Linked DNA regions of Homo sapiens: region 1 is linked to region 2. Evidence: promoter capture Hi-C in 16 types of primary human blood cells and fetal thymus (Javierre and others, 2016). All regions are on one chromosome and are shown on one strand. The core of a region is centred on a gene start or on the middle of the fragment in contact, and the rest is flanking DNA. Distances in the headings are between cores, read along the strand shown.

Evidence for each region. Contacts are between HindIII fragments. The CHiCAGO score rates a contact against its expected background, and 5 or more counts as called.
Region 1: a fragment that was not itself captured here is called in contact with the fragment with the promoter of DNAJB13 in region 2 in 1 of 17 cell types (erythroblasts); the score reaches 5.1 in erythroblasts.

What each region holds. Positions count from the first base shown.
Region 1 is chr11:74,179,888-74,182,587 of GRCh38, forward strand. All of the region lies in intron 1 of PPME1 (protein phosphatase methylesterase 1), which reads left to right. Among named protein-coding and RNA genes, the nearest start is that of PPME1, 9.9 kb to the left of the region's middle. The HindIII fragment of the contact is 5,755 bases long and covers 1-2,700 here.
Region 2 is chr11:73,949,593-73,952,292 of GRCh38, forward strand. DNAJB13 (DnaJ heat shock protein family (Hsp40) member B13) reads left to right here and starts at 1,434. Exons shown (of 8, transcript NM_153614.4): 1 at 1,434-1,545. The coding sequence starts at 1,478. The HindIII fragment of the contact is 10,163 bases long and covers 1-2,700 here.

The DNA.
Region 1 (2,700 bases), core at 6-2,505, 230 kb after region 2:
ATTAAACTTCAGTATTTAGCCTCCACTACCAGACTCCTAGACTTTGACAGAATTTGTGACAACAAGTGATTAAGACTGCTACTGTGCCCATTCATGACTCATCAATAACTCTCTTAACAGACTTAAGCAGCCTAGATGTTGATGTGTTATTCCTATTTAGATTTGAGACATTCATGTAAAAACATACAACTTACATTTCTTGGTTATTGTTCTCTAGGCAAGGAAGGTTTTTCCTCCTTCCCTTTCTCCCCTTTCTCTCCTTCCTCCTGGCTTTCCTTAGGATTTGATCATATAATTTTGTTGGTTTTGGTCATTATCTCCTAGTAGGCATATCACATTGTAGACAAGCAGAACATTCTCTATTCTCCTTAGTCCTCTGAATTGTAATTATTGGTCAACTGTGTATTCCTCAAAACTGTTGAGGTTCATAAGGGTAGGAATTGTGTCTGAATTTTGCTGGTGCTTAGAATGCTGTCTCCTTTAGTGCTAACTGAACGAGAAACCCAAATCCTGGCCTATTTAACCCCGTTCTATAAGAACAACGTTATTTCCCCATCAGTTCCCTTAAGATGGTATAACTAGGGCTATACTGCCTTTCTCCTAAAAGCGGTTATACTTCATAGAATAATAGAATCTCTATTTCAATACCAGCTTTTAGGTAAAATGTATTGTGTTTACAATATGTTACTTTGAGATTTAAAATAATTATATGGTCGAAACTCTTGTAATAGGTCTTGTAATAGGCTTGTAATAGGTCTCATGATATGTACAGATTCAGGCTTGTTACTTTTATTTTATCAAAATTTGACAATTTATGTCTTCCTCTTTGATTCCCCAAACCTGAAAGCAAGTCCACTATTATAAGACAGCAAATGTCAATTAGCAATTATTTTCACACTAGCCTTATTTTATAGTATTCAATTTTTCTGCCCTTGCCCAATTTATCACTTATTCTCTAAGAGCGAAGACTATTTTCCAAGCACCTTCACCAAGTTTAGGGACCAGAGCAAGTGGTCCACCATTAAAGGCTAGTGTTAAAAGCGCTCCAAAGTCATGTCCTAAGCAGTGGTAATTTCCTAAGTGTTTCTTGCACTTAACAATTGCCAAGTTTATTTTGTTGGCAATGCCTTCCATTTTCTTCACTTTTTTTTTTTTTTTTTTTTTTTTTGAGACGGAGTCTCGCTTTGTCGCCCAGGTCGGACTGCGGACTGCAGTGGCGCAATCTCGGCTCACTGCAAGCTCCGCTTCCCGGGTTCACGCCATTCTCCTGCCTCAGCCTCCCGAGTAGCTGGGACTACAGGCGCCTGCCACCGCGCCCGGCTAATTTTTTTTTTGTATTTTTAGTAGAGACGGGGTTTCACCTTGTTAGCCAGGATGGTCTCGATCTCCTGACCTCATGATCCACCCGCCTCGGCCTCCCAAAGTGCTGGGATTACAGGCGTGAGCCACCGCGCCCGGCCCACTTTTTCAACTCCTATCCATCTTTAAAACTCATGAAGCACTTTCAGACTACTTTAGTTCATTCATTTGCTCTCTCTTCTCTGAGCACCTATAACAATTTTGGCATCTCCACTCATCAATTGTTTGCATTGGTATTGTACTTTTTCACTGTTACTGTGTCAGACTTATCGAAGATAATTTTATGCAGATTTTTGTGTGTTTCCTCAATAACATTTAGAACTCCTGTAGTGCAAGGACCTTTGTTTCTTTGTGCTTTCTACTGTAACACAGTTAAATGTTTTTGTAAAATTTAATTTAATGGACACATAGCACAAATTCATTTAAAATAAAGTTCTGAGGCTTTTTCTGATCAGTCCAGCTTGCACCGATTTTTCTATTTTCTGTCCTTTGGTGGCACCTGTCATTTTACCAGGAATCAGCAAACATTTTCTGTTAAAAGCCAGATAGTATTTTAGGCTTTGTGGGCCATGTTAGTCTCTGTTGCAGCTACTCAGCTCTGCTGTTTTAGAGTGAAAGTAGCCACAGACAATATGTAACTGAATGTGTCTGTGTTCTAACAACACTTTATGGACACTGAAATTTGAATTCCACATAATTTCCACATGTCATTAGTCTCTCTTCTCCCCCTGCCCTCCACCTTTTAAAAATGTAAAGATCATTCTCTGATCCTGGGCCATGCAAAAATAGGTGGTGGGCTGGATTTCCCGTAGGCTGTAGTTTGCCAACCCAGTTAGTTCTATACTTCTACTGTCTTGTAGTAGAAGGAAGGTAGGTTTTAAAATCAACAAACTAGGATTCTCTTCCTGGCTTTACTACTTACCGCTTAACTGGTGCAAACTTGACTTTATTTTTTTTTAAATGTAGATAATAATGCTAGCCTCATAGAATTTTTGAGGAGAAAATGAGATGATTTATGTGTAGAAATATTATTTAAATTGGAAAACTGTCTAATGGAAACTTACTGTATTTCCTCAATTCTAAGATACATTTCTTTTTTACATTTAAATTGATAATGTCTTTTTTTTTTTGAGACAGAGTTCTCACTCTGTCACCCAGGCTGGAGTGCAGTGGCATGATCTCGGTTCACTGCAACCTCTGCCTCACAGGTCCAAGCAACCCTTCTGCCTCAGCCACCCGAGTAGCTGGGTTTACAGGTGTGTGCCACCACGCCTGGCTAATTTTTGTATTTTTAGTAGAGACAGGGTTTCACCATGTTGGTCAGGCTGGTCTCAAACTCCT
Region 2 (2,700 bases), core at 184-2,683:
AGTTGGATTTGGGATGTGCATGGAAAACAGGGCTCTGCTGTACTCAGAGAGGTGGAGCATAACTCCCTCACTGTAAGGGTGGGCCGCACAGTGACTGCCTTCCAAAGAGTGCAATACAGCAAGTGGGGAAGGAGGGCTGGCGCGGTGGCTCACGCCTGTAATCCCAACACTTTGGGAGGCTGAGGTGGGTGGATCACTTGAGGTCAGGAGTTTGAGACCAGCCTGGCCAACATGGTGAAACCCCGTCTCTAGTAAAAATAACAAAAATTAGCCGGGCATGGTGGCACATGCCTGTAATCTCAGCTACTTGGGAGGCTGAGGCAGGAGAATCGCTGGAACCCGGGAGGCAGAGGTTGCAGTGAGCTGAAATTGTGCCACTGCACTCCAGCCTGGGCGATGGAGTGAGACTCCATCTCAAAAAACAAAAACAAACAAACAAAAAGAAAAACACCAAACAAATTCCAATTGCAGGACATTCTACAAAACACCTGACCATTATTACTTAAACTGTCAAGGTCATCAAAAACATGGAAAGTCTGAGAAACTGTCACAGTCAGGAGGCACCAGAGGAGATGCAACAGCTAAGTGTAACGTGGCATCCTGGATGGGGTCCGGAACAGAAATAAGATATTAGGTTAAAACAACTAGTAAATCTGAATAAAATGTGGATTTTAGTTAATAATAATGTATCAATATTGGTCATTATTTGTGACAAATGTACCATACTAATGTAAGATGTTAATAATAGGGGAATGTGAATGCAGTGGCTCACACCTGTAATCCCAGCACTTTGGGAGGCCAAGCCGAGCCCAAGAGTTCAAGACCAGTCTGGGCAACATGGTGAAACCCCATCTCTACAAAACATACAAAAATTAGCCAGGCATGGTAGTGCACGCCTGTGTCTCAGCTACTTGGAAGGCTGAGGTGGAAGAATCCCTTGAGCCTGGGAGGTTGAGACTGCAGTGAGGTGTGATCCTGCCACTGCCCACCAGCCTGGGTGACAGAGTGAAGACCCTGTCTCAAAAACATGATAATGATAATAATAATAATAAAATAGGAGAATGTGGATGTGAGGTATATGGGAACTCTCTGTACTGTCTTCTCAACTTTTCTAAACTCTAAAACTGTTCTAAAATAAATGTATTTTTAAAAAATTAGCCAAATGCATTTCTTCTAAAACCTTTTTATTAAAACTAATTACTGCTCTCTTTAAAAACAAAAACAAAATAAAACAGAGCCCTGTGAGTCTTCAATTTCCGAGTTGAGTGACCTTTCACAGGGTCGCAGAATCAGCCCCAGCTCTCCCCCAGTCCTTTCACTGACTCCTCTCTGTGGCAGAGCTGAAATTTGTTTAGGGAAGTGGGACTACAACTCCCAGAGTGCACCTGTGCGGTTGTCAGGAGCAACCAAGGAAGCCAACTAACAGCCTTGCTAGAGTCTGAGGACTATCCAGGGCCTGACTGCCAGCTAGCCAGCCATGGGCCAGGATTATTACTCTGTGCTCGGGATCACTCGCAATTCAGAGGATGCCCAGATCAAGCAGGCGTAAGTTGGGGTGGGAGCCAGGCCTTAGGGGTGTGCTGGGGCAGGCCCTGCCCTCTTCTCTTCCAAAACGAGCTTTCCTGCACAGCTTAGCGCAGACAAGGTAAACCTTGTTCCTCCTTTCACTTCTTGCATACCTGTATCCTGGCTTTGGTCTGGGTCAGGGCCCAGGTTGGAAATTTGAACTCTTTAGTTCCTCAATCTGCTCCCAACCCATCTCCCTTTATGCTCCATGCCCTATATCCTCTCCTGGGTGCCTTGCTTTTCCCAGCAATGAAGTGGGGACAAAGGAGCCATTTGAACTTTATCTTGAATATTATGGAGAACCAGAGGCTTGTGAACAAGGGAGTGGCCAGGCCAGATGGATGTTTTAAATTCAATTCTGGCCATGATGGAGGTTTTCAGCATTGACTAAACTACATTCCTGAATACTTCCATCGGATCTTAAGGACGTTCTGGCTCGTTCCTAAGAAAGCCTACAACAGGAGTCAGTACATTTTTCTGAAAACATGTTTTTGTTTTTTGTTTTGAGACGGAGTCTTGGTCTTGTTGCCCAGGCTGGAGTGCAATGGCGTGATCTCGGCTCACCGCAACCTCCACCTCCTGGGTTCAAGCGATTCTTCTGCCTCAGCTTCCCAAGTAGCTGGGATTACAGGCATGCACCACCATGCCCAGCTAATTTTGTATTTTTAGTAGAGATGGGGTTTCTCCTTTTTGGTCAGGCTGGTCTCAAATTCCCGACCTCTGGTGATCCACCCGCCTCAGCCTTCCCAAGTGCTGGGATTATAGGTGTGAGTCACCGCACCTGGCCAAAAACATGTTTTTTTTTTTAACAAATATTTATTGAGCGTCTACCACAAGGGTTGAGAGGGTACTTCACTCCTGCTGCAGTGGTAGCAGCTGGAGATAAATGTCGGAATCCGACATCGACACTCCCTTACCTCATGCAGCTAGATTTTGTTGCTGAATAGATGTTGAATAAGTCACCACAACTGTGATGAGTGTTACAGAAGAGGAAGTATGGGGGGCTGTGGAAGTTATCTTGGAAGGAGAGAGACCCTTTAGGAGGCTGTTCGTGGTAATCAAGGCAAAAGATGAGGCCAGAGAAAGGGGAGGGAATGGACTTGGTAATTAAGTGGATCACTGGAGGGTGAAGAA